Linked DNA regions of Homo sapiens: region 1 is linked to region 2. The links are contacts of gene promoters, found by promoter capture Hi-C in human tissues and cell types (Jung and others, 2019). All regions are on one chromosome and are shown on one strand. The core of a region is centred on a gene start or on the middle of the fragment in contact, and the rest is flanking DNA. Distances in the headings are between cores, read along the strand shown. Region 1 holds the start of LOC107986773 (a long non-coding RNA gene). Region 2 holds the start of TWIST1 (twist family bHLH transcription factor 1).

Region 1 (6,910 bases), core at 1,507-4,006, 180 kb before region 2:
TGCATACATTGACTTCCTTGCTTAATGTTTGGCTTCTTCGCCCACTCTGTCTGGGTTCCTGACCAGCTCTGGGTTCCTCAGGCCTCAGTGCTTACCTTTCCTGTTACCTCGAACTCTATGTATATGTATGGATGTTGTTTGTTTGTTTGTCTTCCCTTCAGTGTGATAATGCATCTGCCTACAGCCTCTGCTGAATCCCTTGGAACTAGAATCCAACTCGACTTTTATCCTTACAGTGCTATCAGTTTTTCTAATCGTCACAGCAACATACCACTTTTTTAAGTGATAAATGTCCCAGAAGCTGGGGCCTCATCATCCCCAGGACAGCTAAGTGAAGTCTATATCCAAGTGAGTGAAAAATGCTAGCGTCTAAGAAGCTCTATACAATCAATTCAATATAATTTAGAGCTTGTTTCTCTCTTATCTCCCATGGCATGGCTGTAGGGATTAACAGGAGAAATGAGAGTGATCAGAGTTTGTAGATATCCAGGAGCTTATCTCTTAGTGGAATCATCATTGTGATTTCTATCCTGCTTGAAAAATCCAGTCACTAACGTATTGGTAACATCGCTTTAATGGCTAGAAATAGGTAAAAGAATCCAAACCAGATCACAGTGAATATCAGATTCACCTAGGGAGATTGTATAAGATGCTTCTGCCTGGTCCCTACCCAAGCAATTAAATCAGAATCAGTTGGGATATGATGTCCTGAAAGAAGTCGAACACACACATTTGCTTCCTGGGACTTCTGTGCATGACCACCTCTCTGGCTTCTAACTGAGCAGGCTAGGGTTTCAGGTTTGTAGTATATTAATAGATTTAAAAGTTCCCGAGCAATACAATTGTATTTGCACATTTTCTCAGCTGGGAGGAAAATTTCATGGCAATGGCTGTGGCAGATACATGGAAAACACACAAAGTAAAACTTTACAAGTTTCATTGACTTTTATTTCCAGAAAACATGACCCAAGAAAATGCATTTTGGAAGATTAATTTTTATCTATAGTTTGTTGTCTTTGATGATAAAACCTTATCTGAGAATTGCTGTGAAACTTTTATGAGTTCCTCTGACCATTTTGAAACATCAGTAAAGTAGAAAATGAAACCACTTATTTACCAGAGTGATAAAGCATACAAGATTTACATGTAGTCTCTACACAGTTTTTCTTTAAACAATCTGGTTTCTTTAAGGCGCAATGTAAGGGGCTGATATCAGTTCATGTTGGTTGAGTTGTGTTTACCATGAGATTTAGTTTCTTTCTTAAGTACTTTAAACTTAGTAGGTTCAAGGATGCTCAGTGAGTCCAGACACTCAATAAATGCTGTTTGATGATGATAATGCTGAAGTTGCAACATGAGTGTTCTTGTATTCACTCACACTGAATGTCTTACTAAGGTTCAGACTGGCCTGGCGCGGTAGCTCATGCCTGTAATCCCAGGACTTTGGGAGGCTGAGGCAGGTGGATCACGAGGTCAGGAGATCAAGACCATCCTGGCCAACATGGTGAAACCCTGTCTCTACTAAAAGTACAAAAATTAGCCACGTATGGTGGTGCAAGCCTGTAGTACAGCTACTCGGGAGGCTGCGGCAGCAGAATTGCTTGAACCCGGGAGGTGGAGGCTGCAGTGAGCTGACATCTAGCCACTGCACTGCAGCCTGGGTGACAGAGCAAGACTCCATCTCAAAAAAATAAAAATAAATAAATAAATAAATAAATAAATAAAGTTCAGACTTTTTTCTTAAGGTTATACAATGTCATTGTTTCTTAAGGTTATATAATGTCAATGTATTAGTCCACTGCTTCCATGTCTTCATTTTCTTAGTGCAGAATCCAAAAACACAAGAAAGGAAATAATGGCTGTGTTTTCTTAAAACAAGCTGGGATCTTCTATCCATAAGACAGGTAAAACAGAAAAACTCCAACATGCTGTTTCGATGCTGTTATTTTTCTCTAGTACCTCCACCTTTTTTTTTTTTTTTTTTTTTTTTGCCTCCCTTCCCTGATCTTCCTAAATACTGCTCTTCAGGCAGTGTTCCCACAGGTAATGCTGTGAAGTAGGGGTTCAGGGTCAGGGGCCAGTGGGCTCGCTTTCATGTATGTAGCTCTAACTGTAACCCAATGCATCTCTTTCCCCTGAGCAAAGCATTTGTCTTCTCAGCATGAATTGCTACATGCAGAGCAGGATAGGATCCTGCAGACTGTTTGAGGATCAACATTTGGAGACTTAAGACTCACACAAGGTTTAATTGTATTACAGTTGATGAGAAAATAAATATTGAACCATTGCTAGCACCTCATCATGCTTTGAAAATTTAAAATTCCTGATTGGCCTAAGTATCAAGAAGTTGGTCTCTAACATCTGACTCGACTAGAGACTGCATGCTGAAAGAGTCATGCATAGCTAGTTGTTGTAGTGGCTTCTCTATAAAACAAAGAATAGCCAAAAACACTACGCAGACCCCTTCCAATCAAAGAGACTGAACTTTAAAAGCTAACTTTACTGACTGATTCTGAAGTTTTTATTTTCTTTGCCAGACAGGTTCAAAAAGAATGTCTGTTTTCATTTCATCAAGCTTAATCCATACATAACATCCTTTCCCACTATTTACTAGACTGCAGCTATCAAATGAAGATATGATGTCTGTGTTTGGGTTAGTTACTTTAAATTCTAATGACCATGATGTAATCACTGTAATCAAGAAAAGCTTGTCTGTCTTTAGATTTAGGTCCTTTGCCATTGGCCTGGCACACTTTTGAGCCTTTTCATTAAGCTAACCACAATTTTGCCTAATTTGTAATTATCTGAGCTTGCTTTACACAATCTGTGGTCCTAAATTAAAGCTTATTCCATTGTGTGTGTGTGTGTGTGTGTTTTGTGGTAATTGTTGTTCTGGCAAAACCGTTAACAAATATTTAGATAAGAAAGCTTTATCAGCAGTGTATTTTTTTACTCGACTTATGTGTTTGTGCATTTGAGTGTTTCCTTCTAATTATGCATTTTTTGGTAATTATATCTAAAGTGCAGATTCTTCTTTGCTCAAGCAAATGTTTAGAGAAACTTTAAAGTTTAAAAACATTGAAGTTGAAAAAAGATGAAAATTGCAATGAGTATACACGTGAATATAAAATGTTCTTTCAATCTTTATTTCTTTGTGTTTTTTAAACAATAAAGGTTTATATGAATAAAATAGAACCCATACACATATTCCTAATATGGGGAAAGTTAAACTATTGTAATGAAAACCCCACTATGTTCCCATTCTACACACCAGCTTTTAAGAATTACAGAATTGGCCGGGCGTGGTGGTTCACACCTGTGATCCCAGCACTTTGGGTGGCCGAGGCAGGTGGATCACCTGAAGTTGGGAGTTTGAGACCAGCCTGACCAACATGGAGAAATCCCATCTCTACTAAAAATACAAAATTAGCCAGGTATGGAGGCGCATACCTGTAATCCCAGCTACTCAGGAGGTTGAGGCCGGAGAGTTGCCTGAACCCGGGAGGCAGAGGTTGCAGTGAGCCGAGATCATCCATTCCACTCCAGCCTGGTCAACAAGGGTGAAACTCAATCTCAAAAAAAAGAAATTATTACAGAATTATCCTTTCGGTCGGTTGTTCACTAAAAAGGAGCCCTAAGAACCCCTCCACTCTTTTTACTAAGGAAAAATACTTGCTTATAAATTTGGAAAGCACAGATCATTAAATAAATTATTTTGGTAAAAATATCCCATTCTATCTGATAAAGTTTTGCTACTCAAGCACACTTAAATCCCATTTCATCAGAGATACCCTAGATAACATTAGCATTTAGCTACATTCCTGACATCCCTTAATGTATGAAAATCTACTGAATTTGAATGCCTGCGTATTTAATTTACACATCTGGGATAAATATTTTTCATCTTTTAGGTTGCAAGGTGAGTAGAACAAATGGGGAAAGGGAGAATGATTTAGTTGCTAAGTAGCAGACTGCCAAGGAACAGAGATTATTAAACCAAGGCCTGATAAGCTTTCAGTAGTGACCTGGGAAAGCTATGGAAAGGGAGGGAGCATTGTCGCCTCTCTCTGCCTCTTTTCTACTATTTTAAAGCTGGGAATAATGGTCTATTCAAATAGGAACGTGTATAATTTTTGCTATGCCATATGTAGGTATGACTGTGGAAGATTGTAAATCTTCCAGTTCCTAGTGATGCCTTACTCCTTTGCCTCAGCAATGGCAGAAGTATATAGATGGATGGTTAGCATTAACCCCACAGGATGCCATACAGCAAGGTTAATTAATTAACCTACATTAATTAATCACCGAGTTGGTTGAGATAAATGAATTGCCATATATATTCTAGTTCAATAATCTTTAGCTATACGCTATTTTATTTTGACCAACTAAAATAATTCATGAAAATCAATAAAAAGAAAGAGGCAGCAGCATTAATTCAGTTTAAGCAAAACTCCATTTAGACCTTATTTATTATATTAAATAATCATTTAAATGCCTGATGTCAATATGACCAATAGAGGAACTAATTTTAACATGATAATAATGACTGACTCCCAGGAATATTAGGGAAACAGCAATTTACTTAGGTGGGAATGCTGAAAATTGAAATAAAATCAATCAAATATGATTAATATAATAGGGTGTTTAGGTTAATTGGTGTGATGCATGTTTATTATAAAAAGTTGTTGCTGAATGCATGCCTGTTAACCTTTAACCCTAGAGCCTTATTTAACAGTTAACTTACTTACCAGCAGGATATCTTCAGGATTTCTCTGCTAGGTCTAAGCATGGAGAGGCAAGTCCTGACAGTGACAGAAATGAGAAAAAAACAATTTCTCTTGTTTCCTAGAACATATTTTTTCATGGCAATAAATTCTTCTGGGGAAATTCTAATATAGTGAGAAAAATACCGTGTTCTTACTTAGATGAACTAATAGAAAACAACTATAAATGTTTTCATAGTATTAAGTTTAAAATTGCAAAACTTTGAAGAACCACTGACCAAGAAATTGGAAGAAACATGAACTACAGATGCATGCTTTTAATCTTCATTAACTTGTAGTAAATGTGCATTATGTATTCTTTATGTGCATATGTATACATGAAATTGAGATGTACATTGTGTTCTTAGATTTTTAAAATTTAAATGCATATATTTTTAACATTGAGATTTTAGTGAGACCTTGAAATAAAGCTGCTCTTCCATGACAAAAACCAGGATTTAGAGTCTCTGCTTAAAGGAAATGCAGATGATGTGGGCAACTCATGAAGGTTTTCATGGTGCCATTGGTTATACTGCCTCATTACACCATTCTGTCACTCTCGTGATCTGTTATCCAATGCACTATATGTTTAATTTAATGTTTATGTGTTATATCCCCAAAATATTGTAATCTCCTCATGGGAACGGATTCCAGCAATGTCCAACACAATGGCTCCCACACAGTGGCATTTAAGAAAGTGTCTGTTGTCTTGCTTTGACTTAACTCTTTTATTTGGAAGGTTTGATTAGACTAAAAAGAGGCAGGGGGACCTCAAACATCATAAGGAAAGAAAATAATGCGATCAGGCAAACACAAATGAAGAGTTCTCTGCTGTGTTTGAAGAGTAGAGAACTTATAGAGAGAGACAGAGAGACGAAGCTAAAAATATAGGTTCAGTGGGCATTGTCAGGGGCTGGGTATAGGATTAAAGAAGAAATTTATCCTTTGGATATACAAGTCACATATCCAACGTCAAAGAATGCCAGGGAGTTAGAGGTATAGGTGAAGCATGCCTGGTAGAGGCAATAATAGGAACAGTGGCAAAGTGAAACACTATCACTCAGAGGAAATGGACAGCCAATACTCAGCTCTAGCAATCAGTGATGTTTAGAAATGCAGGCACAGTGACGCCAGACCTCCAGATACCATCAACAGTAACCAGAAATCCATGATTTTGTAAAATATTCTAATTCTTTTTTGTGAAATTTGTTGGTATGAATCTTTTTGTCATATTTTTATGGCATTAAGTTTGAACATTTTTATTGTAAATTGACAATTTATAATTGTATATATTTATGGGGTACAAAGTGATGTTATGATTTATGAATACAATGTGTAATCATTGAATCTAGCTAATTAATATATGCACCAACCCAAATATTTAACATCTTTTGTGGTGAGAACATTTGAAATTTATTCTCTTAGCAATTCTGCAATGTGCAGTACATTTTTCTTAACTTTAATTTTAGGTTCAGGGTACATATGCAGGTTTGTTATGTAGGTAAACTTTTGTCACAAGGGTTTGTTGTGCAGATTATGTCATGACCCAGGTACTAAGCTTAGTACCCAATAGTTATTTTTTCTGCCCCTCTCCCTCCTCCCACTCTCTACCCTCAGGTAGGCCCCGGTGTCTGTTGTTTACCCCTTTGTGTCTATGTGTTCCCATCATGTAGCTCCCATTTATAAGTGAGAACATGCAGTATTTGGTTTTCTGTTCCTGCATTAGTTTGCTAAGGATAATGGCCTCCAGTTCTATCCAAGTTCTTTCAAAGGGCATGATCCATTCTTTTTATTGCTGCATAGTATTCTGTGGAGTACATGTACCACATTTTCTTTATTTAGTCTACCATTAATGAACATTTAGGTTGAAATCCATGTCTTGGCTATTGTGAATAGTGCTGCAATGATTATCTTTATTTTTAAAAACACTGCTTGGGTCAAGTAAAACATATGTACAGCATGTTGTGACCGGTAGAGCATTAGTTTATGACTTCTAGCATTGGCAAAGAACTAAGAAATAATTTTGATTTTTTTAAGCATAAGGAGTAAAGGTTTTACTGCCACTTTCTGAGTATAATAAAAGTTTTGATATGACATCACATGACACAGGTGTAGTGATGCTTCTCAATAGACAACCAGAAATTTTA
Region 2 (6,809 bases), core at 3,278-5,777:
GTTTTCTGCAGAAAGAACCAAACCAAACAATAGCAGCAGGACATAAGGCTTCAGGAAAACCCATTTGTGAAAAACGGAAATCCCTTCCAGTGAAGAAAGGTGAAAGTTATGAGTAATCAGAAAGAGAAATTGAATTGAAAAAACATAGAATGTAAATCATTCCATTTATATTTAAATTACTGGTCATCGGATGATTAAAAAGAAGACACATAATGCTATGTAGAAAGACTGAGACCATGATAATAGTTCCTATGAATAACTATTTATTTCTTGCATTCTTTCATCAGTTATTCCAGCAACTCTTTGATACAAGTGAAGTGAGTGTGTTTTCCAACAAGGTTAATGGGCAGCTAAGACACCAACTCTCCAGCCTGCACAACCCCTGAAAAAAAAAATGAAAAAAAAAAATGCTCTTCAAGACTCCATACTTTTCCATATTCTGATCCTGCACTTTCTACAGGTTAGACCTATGTCTCCTCATCCCATCCTTAAGCTGAGTTCAGAATGTCAGCTATTTTAAAGATTAACATTTATTTGAAAATTTCACTTGCGGTACTGTTCGCACCCTAATTTATTGTGTTTTTTACTTTTTCGTTTTATTTCTGGATTGAAAACTTCACATTTTATAACTTTAGTTTGTTTTTTTTACTTTTAAAGATATTCAGATAGAAAAATGTAGAATCAGTTGAGTTTATGAATCAAATCATCATTTAAAGAGAAAGAGAATGAGTTTTTATATAGGGAAAGGTGTTCAAACATCATTAAGGCTACCAGGGTCATGAAAGAAGAATAAGCTTTTACACAGTTATTGTGTTGACATACATGACTTTATATTCCACCTTACTAAAATTCTCTCATTTAAACAGCAGTCCCTCTGGAGTGTTCAAAGCAAGATGAAATCTAAGATATACAACCTCATCTGATATTCACTCAATTGCAGCCTTTCTAATTTTCACTCCCTTCCGTGCGAATGCTCCTGTGCACTATTTATGCAATTCAGATAAATTATTTCTCAGAACTCGGAGCCAACAAACAGGTGATAGGCCATCTAAGGTCTGAGGAGAAAGAAGAGTAGGAACAGATTGAGGTACTCACCTTTTATGCAAGCCCAAACTCCAGAATTTACCAGTTGGCTAACCATTCTATAGTGTGTGTTTCTTTTCCGTATCTAAAAGTATTTATAATTGGTTGTTGCTAAGAGAATGTCACAGCATATTCAAACTGCCAGGATACTTAATACTTATTGTATATGTTCAATGTGAGATTTCTAACTCTGTTACTTTTAACAGTATTTTTTGTTTCAATTTTTAACACAGCACACATTCCTCAGGCAGGATTGCAAACATGCCAAGTTTGCAGTTTGAAAACAAAGATCGTTTTGAACTATCCAAGTACAAAAGAAATTTTTTTTTTCAGTTAAATTTTTTTGGGGAGGACTTTACTTTAGAAGGAGGCAAAATGACTGAATTCCAGTTAATCTAGCATTCCCAAAGAAGGTAGTCCCCACTGACATACTTCCAGTTAGGCTAACTTCAGCCTCAAAAGAAAATTTCTAAGATTGTTTTCATGATCTCAAGATTGGGATTTTAGAAAGAAGCTTTCAAATTTAAACTAAACATTGCAGAAGTTGCAATTATTGTTGCATATATAAGAGAATCCAGAATTATACCTGACCTGTCAACAAGTAAAAAGGGAGCCATCCTTGCAAATGTGGAAAAGAAAATTGTTAGGTAAAATGTTAGATAAGAAAGAGCTGTATATGAGCAGACTGGACTCGTCAGCCAGGGCGTGTTGCAGTTTGCAAAGCAGGGAGTATCTAGCTCCAGCCATTTTTTGAGAGGTACCTCCTGGACTACTTTTGCTCCAAAAGTAACATTCAAGCCCCACTTAAGAACTCAAAAGTCGTCTCATCCTCCACTCCCCGGAACAGTTCAAGAGCCATTTCTTCTTAGAACTAGTCATCAATTGTGACTGTGGCTGAAAGAGTCCATGGGCAGGATGGTTCTGGTTAGGTGTTCATTTTGAATTCCCCTCTCAGTATTCTGGCATCAGAGCGTCGCCTGAGCCTTGCGGGGATCCCTGTACCCAATGGCCAGGAGCTCTTCATCAGCTAGAAGTTTAGTGCCGGGAAAAGGGCTGGGCTCACTTGTTTAAGAACCAGTCTTTGAGACTGATGACTTTGCAAGATGGACTGGCTAATGACCCCTGGCTGCTGCGCTGCTGTGGACTTGGTTTCTCCTCTAGCTTGTCCGCTCCCCTCCCCTTCCCAAATTCCCCTTGGTCAGGTAAGATTTCCTTTACACTTTACCCACACTTTCCTGTCTTACTTATCCGTGGCCACAAAGGAAAGAGTCCAATCATTCGATCTCTTTATTTATTTTTGAGAAAAGAGAAAAAAAGAACAAAACAAAAATAAGATTTATCTTTAAAAAAATAGCTGAAGTGGAAAAGGTTTCGAGATTTCTGCAGCCACGTTCTAAATAAGAATTGCAGAATACTGTAAATTCAGATTTACAAAAAGAACACTTGGTGGAGAGTGGGGCAGAATTTCTGCCGCATTCTCTAAGCGCTTCCAAGAGATAAAATCCTGTAGCGGAAGATGCAAACGCAAGGGTGCAGGGGTGACTGTTTTGAGAACTGCTAGAGTGCTACTGAAATTAAGTGGAGGTCAAGTCGAATCTGATTTTCAGACAATTTTACAGTAAGGCAGCGGCTCACTAAACAGGCCAGTTGACAAGCTGTAGTCACTTTCTGAGTATTTCTGTAAAAATGGTAAGGGATCAACTCTGCAATTTGTCCCTCCCATGAAAGCACAGTCTTGTTTACACCTCGCTGGAGAAATAACACTCGCCCTCACTTCTCCCAAAAAGCTGAACCCTTCAGTCGGCCCAAGCAGCTCCACACCCTGAGGTTTCCAAGACCAAAGCTGCGAGTCTCAGCAGGGAACAGCCACGTGGCCTGCCTGCGCCTCGCCTGGGCTCTTGCCTTCAGCTTGAGATATCTGCAGCCGCGAACCTTGCTCCAGCCCAGAAAGGGGCGCTTTGCTCAATTAATTGTTCCCGCCGGCGAGTCCGTACTGAGAAGCCCATGAGCGGACCTTATGTGCAGGGTACTCCAGCGCGGTGCACAAAACTCGTCGCCCCCAAACGCTGCCCCCACCCCAACACTGTGTACTGACTCCAGCTTTTTACTTTGCCATGTAAGGGATGGACCTGAAACGGTTATTTTACCTCAATTCATTTCAAAAAGGAAACAAGTATGGCATTGCAAAAGATGGGCTTCTTATCCAAGGCGACTTCCTTTCTGGTTCACCAACTTTGCTGCTTCCAGTTTGCCAGGATCTACATTAACACCCTCTTTGGGGCTCTTCGTTTTAACTTACAGACAGAAATGCTTAAAATGTTAGCGTATCCAAGCATTTGGAATTGGGGCTCACGAAGCCTAATTGTCCACTGGATGCCCTAGATAGTGGGGGCTGGGGCGGGGGGGGTCTCAGAGCGGGCAGCCCCTATGTCTAGGCGCTATCAAATTCCCACTTCACTCTCTTACAAGCTGGCCTTTCAAGGTCACAATGCGGAGCCTAATTTGGGGGTGGGGATGAAATGGCCACAGGGTCTCTCCCTTGGGTTGGCATTGCCAGCTGTTAGGGCCGCAGCAAAGGCGCTGCGCTGCCCCCCTCTGGCTCTGCTGCCTTTCCCATGGACTGGGTTTCCTTCCACCGAAGAGTGAACTTCTGCCTCTTTCGAGCACCTTCCGAGGCGTAGTCCTTTGGATGTTGGGGAGCGTCAGACTGGGTCGTTGTAGAGGGGAAAGGAGGGCCCAGAAGGGCGAGAGAGCAGGCCGGGACGCAAATCCTCAGCCCCCGCGGCGCGGCCACGTCTTCAGAAACGCCCAGGACCTCCGGGCTGGGCCGCCGCGGTTTGGCCTTTGGAACTCCAAGGGGTTCGTCTACCTGACCATTGGGTGGGCTCCGCGGTTGACACTTTTCTTGGCATGCCCCCCCACCCCGCGCCACACCACCCCCCCAGCCCCAGCAATCCCAAATCGGCCCCACGGACCTAGAGGGCTCTTGGGCGAGATGAGACATCACCCACTGTGTAGAAGCTGTTGCCATTGCTGCTGTCACAGCCACTCCGGATGGGGCTGCCACCGCGGCCAGGACAGTCTCCTCCGACCGCTTCCTGGGCTGCGCTAGGGTTCGGGGGCGCTGCCCGCACGCTCCGGCGGGGAAGGAAATCGCCCCGCGCCCGCCGGAGGAAGGCGACGGGGAGGGAAGGGGGAGGGCGGCTAGGAGGCGGGTGGAGGGGCCGGCCGCCCGGGCCAGGTCGTTTTTGAATGGTTTGGGAGGACGAATTGTTAGACCCCGAGGAAGGGAGGTGGGACGGGGGAGGGGGACTGGAAAGCGGAAACTTTCCTATAAAACTTCGAAAAGTCCCTCCTCCTCACGTCAGGCCAATGACACTGCTGCCCCCAAACTTTCCGCCTGCACGGAGGTATAAGAGCCTCCAAGTCTGCAGCTCTCGCCCAACTCCCAGACACCTCGCGGGCTCTGCAGCACCGGCACCGTTTCCAGGAGGCCTGGCGGGGTGTGCGTCCAGCCGTTGGGCGCTTTCTTTTTGGACCTCGGGGCCATCCACACCGTCCCCTCCCCCTCCCGCCTCCCTCCCCGCCTCCCCCGCGCGCCCTCCCCGCGGAGGTCCCTCCCGTCCGTCCTCCTGCTCTCTCCTCCGCGGGCCGCATCGCCCGGGCCGGCGCCGCGCGCGGGGGAAGCTGGCGGGCTGAGGCGCCCCGCTCTTCTCCTCTGCCCCGGGCCCGCGAGGCCACGCGTCGCCGCTCGAGAGATGATGCAGGACGTGTCCAGCTCGCCAGTCTCGCCGGCCGACGACAGCCTGAGCAACAGCGAGGAAGAGCCAGACCGGCAGCAGCCGCCGAGCGGCAAGCGCGGGGGACGCAAGCGGCGCAGCAGCAGGCGCAGCGCGGGCGGCGGCGCGGGGCCCGGCGGAGCCGCGGGTGGGGGCGTCGGAGGCGGCGACGAGCCGGGCAGCCCGGCCCAGGGCAAGCGCGGCAAGAAGTCTGCGGGCTGTGGCGGCGGCGGCGGCGCGGGCGGCGGCGGCGGCAGCAGCAGCGGCGGCGGGAGTCCGCAGTCTTACGAGGAGCTGCAGACGCAGCGGGTCATGGCCAACGTGCGGGAGCGCCAGCGCACCCAGTCGCTGAACGAGGCGTTCGCCGCGCTGCGGAAGATCATCCCCACGCTGCCCTCGGACAAGCTGAGCAAGATTCAGACCCTCAAGCTGGCGGCCAGGTACATCGACTTCCTCTACCAGGTCCTCCAGAGCGACGAGCTGGACTCCAAGATGGCAAGCTGCAGCTATGTGGCTCACGAGCGGCTCAGCTACGCCTTCTCGGTCTGGAGGATGGAGGGGGCCTGGTCCATGTCCGCGTCCCACTAGCAGGCGGAGCCCCCCACCCCCTCAGCAGGGCCGGAGACCTAGGTAAGGACCGCGCCGCTGCACCCCTTCGCCTCTCAGGTGGCAGACGGCAGGCCGGCCAGGCCGCGGTTCCCAGTCCACCTCGATTTCCTCCCCTCTCCCACTCTCCGCTCAGCCTTCCCACCTCACTTGGCACCGTTGCCTCGCGCCCCCAGCGTCCCCGGAAGGCCGGTCTGACCCCGCTAGGGAGAGCAGTCTCCAGGGGGATGCGCCCTGGTGAGGGGTGTGTGTGCGCGTGAGTGTGCGTGACAGGAGGGGAGACAGAGACACCCAGGGTCACGGGTAAGGACCGTTTTGTCAGCGCCACCCTTTCTTTCGGCTTTCAATTTTTGTTCTCCTTAAAACAAATGTTTTAAAACAAATTCCACCTCCTCCTCCTTTCCACCCACCCACTTCCTCTTGCCCTTGGGCTGAAATCCTTCCAGGTTGTTCAGCTTAATTTCTCAGTGGTGGTGATAAGAACAGTGCTCACTAGTCTTAGAAAACAGCCGCAGAGACCTAAACAATAACCGACTCCCCCCCCCCCCTCTGGGTTTTTGCAGATGTCATTGTTTCCAGAGAAGGAGAAAATGGACAGTCTAGAGACTCTGGAGCTGGATAACTAAAAATAAAAATATATGCCAAAGATTTTCTTGGAAATTAGAAGAGCAAAATCCAAATTCAAAGAAACAGGGCGTGGGGCGCACTTTTAAAAGAGAAAGCGAGACAGGCCCGTGGACAGTGATTCCCAGACGGGCAGCGGCACCATCCTCACACCTCTGCATTCTGATAGAAGTCTGAACAGTTGTTTGTGTTTTTTTTTTTTTTTTTTTTGACGAAGAATGTTTTTATTTTTATTTTTTTCATGCATGCATTCTCAAGAGGTCGTGCCAATCAGCCACTGAAAGGAAAGGCATCACTATGGACTTTCTCTATTTTAAAATGGTAACAATCAGAGGAACTATAAGAACACCTTTAGAAATAAAAATACTGGGATCAAACTGGCCTGCAAAACCATAGTCAGTTAATTCTTTTTTTCATCCTTCCTCTGAGGGGAAAAACAAAAAAAAACTTAAAATACAAAAAACAACATTCTATTTATTTATTGAGGACCCATGGTAAAATGCAAATAGATCCGGTGTCTAAATGCATTCATATTTTTATGATTGTTTTGTAAATATCTTTGTATATTTTTCTGCAATAAATAAATATAAAAAATTTAGAGAACCTTAGAGTTTGGTCTATATTTTTAAAACTAAAGATTAAGTTGGTGGTAAATACCTGCTTGTTTAATTCTAGAGGCACCCAGGAGGGAGGGGGCACTAATATAAACAAAGCAAT

The links. The method cuts DNA at HindIII sites, captures the fragments that hold promoters and counts their contacts. A contact is called where the count stands out against the background at its distance.
Region 1: a fragment that was not itself captured here is called in contact with the fragment with the promoter of TWIST1 in region 2 in 1 of the 25 tissues and cell types used here (mesendoderm cells).

Annotation. Positions count from the first base shown.
Region 1 is chr7:19,297,220-19,304,129 of GRCh38, reverse strand. It overlaps LOC107986773 (a long non-coding RNA gene), which reads right to left and starts at 4,406. Exons shown (of 3, transcript XR_001745109.2): 1 at 3,451-4,406. The HindIII fragment of the contact is 4,820 bases long and covers 347-5,166 here.
Region 2 is chr7:19,115,354-19,122,162 of GRCh38, reverse strand. TWIST1 (twist family bHLH transcription factor 1) reads left to right here and starts at 4,527. Exons shown (of 2, transcript NM_000474.4): 1 at 4,527-5,492; 2 at 6,032-6,695. The coding sequence starts at 4,842. The coding sequence ends at 5,450. RefSeq lists enhancers at 2,517-3,380, 4,454-5,237, 5,261-5,520. The HindIII fragment of the contact is 7,370 bases long and covers 1,197-6,809 here.